Regions from separate parts of the Homo sapiens genome. Here region 1 is linked to region 2. Evidence: promoter capture Hi-C in 16 types of primary human blood cells and fetal thymus (Javierre and others, 2016). All regions are on one chromosome and are shown on one strand. The core of a region is centred on a gene start or on the middle of the fragment in contact, and the rest is flanking DNA. Distances in the headings are between cores, read along the strand shown. Region 1 holds the start of ZNF823 (zinc finger protein 823). Region 2 holds the start of CNN1 (calponin 1).

Evidence for each region. The method cuts DNA at HindIII sites, captures the fragments that hold promoters and counts their contacts. A CHiCAGO score of 5 or more calls a contact.
Region 1: a contact is called between the fragment with the promoter of ZNF823 here and the fragment with the promoter of CNN1 in region 2, in 11 of 17 cell types (total B cells, erythroblasts, non-activated CD4 T cells and 8 more). The highest score is 13.5, in total B cells.

The regions. Positions count from the first base shown.
Region 1 is chr19:11,736,711-11,741,852 of GRCh38, reverse strand. ZNF823 (zinc finger protein 823) reads left to right here and starts at 2,907. Exons shown (of 4, transcript NM_001080493.4): 1 at 2,907-3,036. The coding sequence starts at 3,034. RefSeq lists silencers at 2,729-2,923, 3,184-3,333 and enhancers at 2,934-3,013, 3,404-3,533. The HindIII fragment of the contact is 8,001 bases long and covers 1,119-5,142 here.
Region 2 is chr19:11,536,212-11,541,042 of GRCh38, reverse strand. It overlaps CNN1 (calponin 1), which reads right to left and starts at 2,192. Exons shown (of 7, transcript NM_001299.6): 1 at 2,053-2,192. The coding sequence starts at 2,115. RefSeq lists silencers at 1,167-1,216, 4,645-4,831 and an enhancer at 2,276-3,221. The HindIII fragment of the contact is 23,519 bases long and covers 1-4,831 here.

The DNA of each region.
Region 1 (5,142 bases), core at 1,658-4,157, 200 kb before region 2:
CCCTCAAAATTCATAGGTGAGAACTCAATCCCCAGCACCACAATTTTGGGAGTTGGGGACTTTTAGTCTTTTGGCAGAGCCCTCATGAATAGACTAATGCCACTATAAAGGGTTTGATGGATGGGGCTCGCCCTCTCTTGCCCTTCTGTCTTCTGCCCTGTGAGGATGCAGTGTTCCTTCCCTCCAGAAGATGCAGTAAGAAGGCCCTCCCTAGGTGCTGGCACCTTTATCTTGGAATTCCCAGCATCCAGAACTACGAGAAAACTAATTAATATTCTTTATAAATTGCCCACTTGGCAGTAGTTCATTATAGCAGCACAAATGGACTAAGACACTCTTCATGGATAGTTAATTAATCTTCAACAAATAGGCCAAGATAAATTAAAGGGGAAAGTCTTTTCAACAAGCTACTAAGGAAGTTGAATATTGACCTTCAGAAACACGAACTGAGCTCCTTACTGCATGCATTAAAGTTAACTCACACTGAAATGGTACATTTAGCAGCAGATATTAGAGGATATCTTCGTGACAGAGGGTTGGGGAAGGAGTTGTGTTTCCTTTTCTTTTAAAAAACTCAGAAATAGCCGGGTGCAGTGGCTCACAACTGTCATCCCAGCACTTTGGGTGGCCGAGGCAGGCAGATCACCTGAGGTCAGGAGTTTGAGACCAGCCTGACCAATATGGAGAAACCCTGTCTCTACTAAAAATATAAAATTAGCCAGATGTGGTGGCGCATGCCTGCAATCCCAGCTACTCAGGAGGCTGAGGTGGGAGAATTGCTTGAACCCGGAGGCAGAGGTTGCGGTGAGCCGAGATTGCACCATTGCACTTCAGTCTGGGCAACAGGAGCAAAACTCCATCTCAGAAAAAAAAAAAAGACAAACTCAGAAATAAACATCCTAACTCAGAAAAGCATGGTGTTGCCATAGAACTGACTGTGAGGAAACTAACAGCAATACTTTCTATATTGTGTTTAAACTTGCACATACAAATTTTGGGCTTTCTAGCTTCTCTTAGGATTTCTTTTATACTTTCTCTGGGGGAGGGGGTGTGGGTCTCACCATTGTTGATTTTTCCTTCATCATGGTAATGCGAACAGCTATTTTTGTCTGGAAGCTTTTATATGTATTTAAATCATTGCAGAAATCAACTACTTACTTGTTGCCATTTGTAAAAATATACAGAATCTGTATATAAACCCCTGACAATCAGTTAGTTTGATACATTGTGCCCTCTTTTAATATGTGTGGAAACAAATAAATAGAACATTGTTCCAGGAGCAGTTAATGTGAGGAGTGAGGGGTGGAGCATTTCATAAAATAGTAGTTTATCCTTCAGAGAGCAGTTTCTAGCATAATAGACTGTGGGAGTGTGTGTGTGTGTGTCTGTGTGTGTGCTTATTATTTTTTTTTAAGGAAACAGTATCATTTATGCATTAGGTTATACTCAGACGTCATTTTTTTCATTCATTTTCTAAACGTGCCCATTTGTCCTGGCAGAAAATGCTATAGTTTCTAGAAGTTGATTGAAGATTTCATTTCATCTATTGACATCTCATGTTCAGCTCCTTTCTATTTAGCCATGGCTACCAGCTTCTAGTTCATAACGCTTTTTTTTTTTTTTTTTTGAGATGGAGTTTTTTTTTTTCCTCGCTCTGTTGCCCAGGCTGGAGTGCAGTGGTGTGATGTCGGCTCACTGCAACCTCTGCCTGCCGGGTTCAAGCGATACTCCTGCCTCAGCTTCCTGAGGAGCCGGGATTACAGGAGCGTGCCACCACACCCGGCTAATTTTGCGTTTTTAGTAGAAACGGGGTTTCATCATGTTTGTCAGGCTGGTCTCAAACTCCCGACCTCAGGTGATCCACCCGCCTCAGCCTCCCAAAGTGCTGGGATTACAGGCGTGAGCCACCGCGCCCGGCCATAACGCTTTTAAGTCTAGTATTTTTACTTCATAAACATATGGAGAAAGGCTAATGTTTTCAAATTCAAAGTGTGATGTCTTGGCTTTTGATTGGAGCGTTTAATTCATTAACATTTAATGGCATAAGGAGGGAGCATTTCCACGCTGTGCAGAGGGGACAGGTATTTTGAGACCTCAGAGTAAAATTCTTAATTGTCCCTCCCTTATCACCAGCTTCTGATCCACCCCGGAGCTCCATTTTAGGAATCATTGCCTGGCTTCCCAGCTTGGGGATATGTTTGACCTCCTGAAAGGGGGTCTGCTTGTGAACTGTGAGTGCAGTAGGCTGCTTCTCTGAGCTTGTTCAAGTTTTTGCTTTTCTTCTCTTTTGATTCTTTATGAAATATTGCTGCCATATAATTCCAGTTTTTCCACATACTCAACTATTTTATTTTGTTGTCCTGTTTTTATCTTCTGGGCTGAAAATGAGTAGATTGAGAGATAAGGTGAGGGAAAGGCTTGGCAACGTCGCCAACAGCCTCATCCCAAATTCCTGATCCCTGGAGGACATCAGGCCCTCCCTCCTGCTGCAGGGTGGCCTGTGTGCCCCGGGCTCCCCTCCTGCTCCGAGGTCCGGGAATGGCTCCACTGGACAGGGAGCCTGGAATTCCCTGCACACACTTGTGAGTCCCTGTCCAGGAGGAAAAAGCAGGAAGAACCCACTGAATACAATCAGGAAATTCTAAAATGCAAACGTCACTTCGGGAGGGGTCAGGTCACTCCGTTGGGAGGAAGCCCGCCTTGCCAAGGGTCGTGCCTGGAACCTGTTCATCCGGCTCCACTCAGCACTGTGAGATCGCTTCTTCTGTCAATCAGCCACCAAGGGGCGGGACCTGGAGCACTATCCAATCAGGGATGAGGGGGCGGGGATTGTGAGAACTGTCAATCAGGCACGCTGCAGGGAGGAGGGTGCGACGTTCAAAGAGCCCGCGGAGTCTTCTCCACGCCCCTGCGCTCTGAGTCCTGGCTCTGGCGCTGAGAGAGAGACGCCCTGGAAGGTCTGTATCAGCGTCTGTCGCGCTGGGACCCACACTGGCTTTTAAGGAGGACACCCGGACACCTGGAAGCTGGGAAATGGTGAGTGTGCGGGGCCCGGCGTCCCGAGGCAAAGAAGGGGCAGGTTGGAACCGGCCGGAACCGACCGTGAGGGGACCCGGGCCTCGCCCTGGGCGACTCCGGGGTCTGCAAATCCCAGTGCCCCTGGCGCAGCTCTGCCCTTGGTCCCCTGGGCCGCAAGATGGGGCTGGGGCGGCAGCCGGGACCCCGGGCGTCCTGTCCCGTCCCTGCTCGGCCGCTGCGGCCCCGGCCCCGGCGCCCTCTCTGGGCAGCTCCGCGCCCGCAGCTCCGCGTCTCCCCAGATTGTGCAGTTGTAACCGGCACAGGTTCACGGCCCGAGTCACTGCACCGAGACGCCGAAGGCTGCAGCAGAAACAGTTTAATGGGGGAGAGGGGAGGACACCCCAGATCCGCCTCCCTGAGAGGTTTGGGGATGGGGTGTTTAGAGGTGTGGACAGGGACGGCTGGAGTGTGGGGTCGCTGGTTGGTGGAGAAGTGAGAGGTGACTCCTGGGACTGGAGGTGAAGAAACCGCATTCTGCTGAGTGGGTTCCCTTGTGGGGTCTTCAGCCTGGTTGGCGCCAGCCTTTCCGCTGCAATTCAGGATCCGAGAAAGAACTGAGGCGACCCGTGAGCAACTCTCAAGAGATCTTATCCCCGGGCACGATGAGGAAGCCGGCGGTCAGCGTCTGCTGTGACCTGACTCTCAGGGAGGCGGCCCCGTGAGGCAGCGGGGCTGAGGGCACCTGGTTAATATCTAACTGCAATCTCGCCTCCAGCCTGGCTCGCAGTTCCTGTGAACCCGGTGAGGACGCTGCACGGTGACAACGGAGGGTCACCAGGCAGAATCCAGACTCGTGTGTGTGGGCTTTGTGCTTTGGAAGAGAAGCTGTGATCTGTGGGTTCCCCAGTCCCTTCTTTCTTCCCAAAGGTGACCGGTTTCCCTCCGAGTCTTCCAAAGATGTGGGCAGCAGGGTCTCAAATCCACCACCCTATCCCCTCATCCTAACTCCTCCTAGGGCTGGCAGCAAATCTCTTGGTTTTCAGAGCCTTCCCCAGGCTAACTGTCTCTCATCAATTCCCAGCAACTTTATGAACTCTTTGTCCCTCAGGCAATATTTCAAACAGAGGCATTATTTTAATTGTCACTTTCTTTTCACATAGCAATGTATGGCTCTTTTTAAAAGATGTGTTTTTGTGTTTGTGAACATTTCACATGTGAGGAAGCAAAGAATAACCACTTGACTCCAGTGTGAAAAAAAAAAAAAAAAAAAAAAAGCCGGGCGCGGTGGCTCACGCCTGTAATCCCAGCACTTTGGGAGGCTAAGGCTGGCGGATCACCTGAGGTCGGGAGTTCGAGACCAGCCTGACCAACATGGAGGAACTCCGTCTCTACTAAAAATACAAAATTAGCCGGGGTGGTGGCTCATGCCTGTAATCCCAGCTACTTGGGAGGCTGAGGGAGGAGAATTGCTTGAACCCGGTAGGCGGAGGTTGCGGTGAGCCAAGATCACGCCATTGCACTCCAGCCTGGGCAACAAGAGTGAAACTCCGTCTCAGAAAAAAGAAAAAGAAAAAAAAAATAGTGCATGTGTGGCTGTCCTTTATCTTGTCTACACAGAGATACCCGAATATTTTCAGTCGAGGTTCCTCTTTGCAAATGGCACAGGGTGATCTGTCAGCCCACCCTCTATGGTGTCCTGGTCCTGGGTTACAGAACTGTTTGGGGCTGCTCCAAGATGCTCATAGCTGCTAAGTCTTTTGTAGTGTCTAGTGAATATCAGCTTTGAGTCACTCCTCCCAGAGGACAGCCAGAGGTGGGGGGTGGGACCTTATAGGGGAGCAGCTGGATGTCGTGGGGTGGGAGGAGTTTCCTGGTATACTGTTCCTCAAAAAGCAAAGCCCTTAAGACATTCAGCTTTTCTTCCCCACCCCAGTTTCCATTCCCTGGGGACACATGGCTGATGAGCCAGCTGGTTGGCGGTATTGAGGGAGCTTCTCCTTGGAGGGTAATTACTCAGCAGTTCAGTGAGCAGCACTGGGGTGGGAGATGTCCCAAGTGATAAGAGGACCTGAACTGACACTAAAGTAGTCAGATTTGTCTGTGTTCCAGTCAGCCCCTCCCTGC
Region 2 (4,831 bases), core at 943-3,442:
AGGGGTGAGGATGCATTGGGGGCAGCCTGGGCTCCCTGGGTCCTGTCTGAACTTCCTAGAGCCTGATCTCCCTCGTCCTTCCCAACTAAGGCAATTTTGCCCCAGATCCATAGTTGGGGGATGGGGGCTGGGGCGGGCTGAGAGCCAGGGCTGAGGTGGCACCTGCCCAGGGGGCCATTCCGGGCATTCTGAGGTTTGGCACCAGGGAATGTAGATGAGGGGTGGGGTGTGGGGAGCTGGATCCTCTGAGCTAGAGGGGTGGCACCCGGCACCCTGGTTTTTCGCCCAGGCCAAACTTGGGGCTTCTCTTCCTCTAGCCCTGCCCCCTCTGTGCCCCCTGTTGGAAGAGAGGGCACCTCAGGAAGGGAAGAAGGATGTCTAAGGAGGTGTCCCTGGGTGCTGGCTTGCAGAGGAGTGCTGGTCATACATCTCTGTCTCTCCGTGTCCCCCAGGTCTTCAGCTCCAGGGCTCTGTCTCTGGTTAGTGGTGGGGGCTTGTCTCTGTCTTAGCCCCCACCCCTTGCACGTCTGTATGTCTCTCTCCCTCTTATCCCCCCGACTCCTCTGTCTCTCTCTTCCCCAGCGCTGTCTTTTCTTGGCCCAGTCTTGGGTCCCCATCTCTCTAGGTGGCTAGTCCCTGTCTGGCCAGGGGTAGGGCTCCTGGGTCTTGTATATCTGCCTCTCTAGGTCTTTCTCTGTCTCCAGGTTTCCTGCCTGGGGTGGGGGTGGTGGGGCTCTGTCTCCTCTCCCTGCCCCTCCATCCTTGTCTAGGTCTTATCTCGCTCCTGGCTCGCCCTCCCCCGTCTGTCCCTAGGGTGTCTCAGGCTCCCAGTATCTCTGTCTGCCTCTCCCCCCACCTCCCTGCTTTTCCCTCTCTCCACTGTCCCCCCCCTCCCCCACTCCACTCCCATTTCTCCAGAACCCTCCGCCCAAGCCCAGCCAGGCTCCCAGCCCCTAGGGGACCGGGCTGCCTCTTCTTCTCCCGGGTGAGTGGGGGGAGGTGGGAGGGGCGGCCCCCTCACCTGGCCCTGGCCCTGCCGCCCCCCACGCCACCAGCCCGGCTTTATAAAGCAAACCGGCCCTTATATAGCGTGGCCCGGGCTCCCCGAGGCCGCCTTATAAGGCGCGGCGTCTCTGCGCGGCTCTGCGCGGCTCTGGGGCCGGCGCTGGGGGGGAGGAGGGCGGCGCTGGGATCTGTCTCTCGCCCGAGGACCCGCCCCCCACCAGCCCCCTCCTCCAGCCCCGAGATCCCTCGACCCAGGTTCCAACCCAGTCCCCCACTTCCTCACCATGGGACCCTGGGAAAAGCCACCCTGAGCCTCAGTGTTCCCCTCTGTCAAATGGGGCAGGAACTCCTCCCTCGGCAATACTGTTGGGGCGATTCCAGTGGGCTGGAAACTTAAAGTTCTCCAGCTGGGAGAAGCTGAGCCCATCCTGGTGTATGGGGGGTGAGTCCAGGGTCCGAGCGCTGTACCTGCTTTACCTGGGACCCCAGCTATTTGCCTCTCCTCTCCGAACCTCAGTTTACCCAACCATAGCATGAAGGTGGTGTCCAGGTATCTTCCTAGCTCCACAGTCAGGAGACCCCTGCCGCACTTCTGATGCCCGCTTCCTGCCTTTCACCGTCCCCCTCTGTCTTCAGGATCTCCCACACTTTCACGGCGTCACTTCCCAGGTACCCCAGCACTCAAGCGCTCCCCAATTTCTTTGTCAGGCCGGGGGATATGGAAAAATCAACAAGTCTTCCCCCTATGTTGTTCCCCCCAAGAACACGAAGGGTTAACAGAAGACTGATCAGGTGGGTATCTTTGCAATGGACTGACCCCCTCTGTTTATGTGTGGCTGTGTGCCCCCCCATTCCAGCCCCAACCATAGCTGGGGGCTCCGGGATGTTCAGGGGGAGACAGGCAGCCCCTATCCCATATCACTCCCTTTTCCCCTCTCAGTTTCCAAGTCACATAGGATAGGCAGGAGGGGGTTCAAGGGACCCCAAGCTCAGGGCTCTGGCCTGGCAGGACGTGTGGGCCAGGCCAGGGAGGCCCTCCAGCCCTACCTTGTTCTTAACCTCGGCTGACAGCCCGTAGGCAGGGCCTCGGTTGAAGTGAGCAGAGGACATGCTGGCCGGTGGGCTCTGGCGGGGGCAGTGGCGGCACTGACGCTGAGAACAGAGGCAGCGGCTGAAGTTCCGTCTGCACACTCTTCCCTCCTCACATGTTTTTGAAGCTCCGGAGGCGACCCGGGTCTCTTCCAGGGCCGTTCCATTGGCTGTAGGGGCCTGCCAAGGGGCGGGGCACCTCCCCCCACAACCTCAGCTGCCTTCCCCTCCCCTTGTGATGTCAGGCCCTTGGTATTGGGAGCTGATTGTGTCATTGTTTCCACCTAGGGGGGCAGCCTGCGTTATTCTGGGGGGGCTTGGTCAGACAGAGACCAGCCTTCTTCCACCCACCCCTCCCACTGTCCATTGGGCCTCTGGCTGGGTCTGAGTCTCTTTGTCTCTGAGGTCATCTCTCTTTATCTCTCTGGAGTCTTGAAGCAGGACTGACACCCAAGGTAGTTTAGTGAGCACCATCCCGGGTTTATCTCCAGATACCAACAGTCTATAGCCTTAGGTAAGCCCCTTCTCCTCTCTGGGCCTCTATGGCCACATCTGTAAAATGGGCTAACGATAGTGCCTGCCTCATGGGAGAGTTGTAAAGATCAGAAGAATATGCCTGTTACATGCCCAGCACAGTGCCCGGCACAGCAGAGGGACTCGGGCCATAGCAGTCTTTTTAAGGCAAGGTTTCACTCTGTCCCCTCGGCTGGAGTGCAGTGGCACAATCACAGCTCACTGCAGCCTTGACCTCCCAGGCTCAAGTGATCCTCCCATCTCAGCCCATCCAAGTAGTTAGAATTGCAGACTTGTGCCACCAACCTGGCTAATTTTATTTTATTTTTTTAGAGATGGGGTCTCGCTATGTTGCCCGGGGTCTCGCTATGTTGCCCAGGCTGGTCTCAAATTTCTGGGCTCAAGCAATCTGCCCGCCTTGGCCTCCCAAAACGCTGGGATTTACAGGCATGAGTCACCATGCCCAGCCTATAGCATTCTTTATGCTGAGGGTCCAGCACCCCAGTTCTGTCTCCTCCAGCCCCTCATAAGGACCTGGGGGAGAAGAGATCCTGGGTCTCACCCTCCCCATCCACTTGTGTGTCACCTGAACTACAGGGTGACTTTGTTGGCAAGTCCCAGGCCGTGAACTGTGTCCCTGTCAAACAGCCCTACCCAGCCAGATCTCACCCCTGGACCACAGGGGTGGATGCTATGCCCACATCATGCCCCACATGGCAAGGCCATGTTTGTGACACTTGGATGACATGTCTGCAACCTGCCACACACTAATGATATGTTGAGGATATGCAGTTTATCGGTCACATGCTAATGGCATGGCTGCAATATGCCACAGACTACAGCCCTTATGTCAGGCCATGTTCCAACTCTGTACATATATCCATTCAATTCTCATGACGCCCTCAGAGATGGACACTGTTATTATTATTATTATTATTATTATTATTATTATTTGGAGACAGAGTCTCTATTCCCCAGGCTGGAGTGCAGTGATGCTATCTCGGCTCACTGCAACCTCCACCTCCTGGGTTCAAGCGATTCTCCTGCCTCAGCCTCCCAAGTAGCTGGGATGACAGGTGTCTGCCACCACGACTGGCTATTTTTTGTATTTTTAGTAGAGACGGGGTTTTGCCATGTTAGCCAGGCTGGTCTCGAACTCCTGACCTCAGTTGATCTGCCCACCTCGGCCTTGCAAAGTGCTGGGATTACAGGCGTGAGCCACCGTGCCCAGCTGACACTGTTATTATTAATACAAGTACTTTGCTTTACAGGTGGGGAAACTGAGGCACGGGGGCTTGGAATCACTTTTTCAGCGTCACACAGCAGGCCAGGGGCAGAGGAGAATTTGAGACCATGCTCCATGAACCTCAACTATGAGGCTAAGGTGGGGTTTCTCAACCTCCACACTGTTGACAGCTGAGGCTGGATAATTCTTCATGGTTGGGGGGCTGCCTTGGGCATTCATTGTAAGACTTCAAGCAGCATGCCTGGCCTCTACCTGCTACATGCCAGTAGCACTCTCTTAGTCCTAATAAACAGAAATGTTGAGGCACTGCGGCAGGACCCTGTAGTCCCAGCTACTAAGGAGGCTGAGGTGGGAGGATCCCTTGAGCCCAGGAGTTTGAGAACCATCTGGCCAAGATAGCAAGACCATGGTCTCTAAAAAAGAAAAATTAAAAGAAGAAATGTCTACACACATTGCCAATGTCCCATGATTGGGGTCGGGGTGGAAGCAGATCACCCCTGTTTGCCAACCACTGAGCTAAGGCAATGTGCTAGTTGATGGCATGTCATGATATGTTGAACATACACGAAAATACATAAAATACGAGGCCAAGGCGGGAGGATCGCTTGAGCCCTGGAGTTCGAGACCCGAGACCAGCTTAGGCAACATAGCGAGACCCCGTCTCTATTTAAAAAAAAAAAAAAGAAAAAATAGAAAGTACATAAAATGAGCTAACAATTAGCACCTGCTACGTACTAAGAGCTTTGAGCCTGTTAACTCATTCCTCACGACAGCCTTATGAGGTGGGTCTATACGAGGCACAGAGAGGTGACGCCGAATGGCCGGGTCACACAGCTCGAGGGTGGCAGGGGCGGGATTCGAACGCGCAGATTCCTGGATCCCTCCCAAACTGAGCGGCCCTCGGGGGCCGCAGTTCGCTACTGCGCATGTGAGGACCTGCAGCCGGCGCCCCCTGGCGGCCCGGGAGGGGCGGGGGCG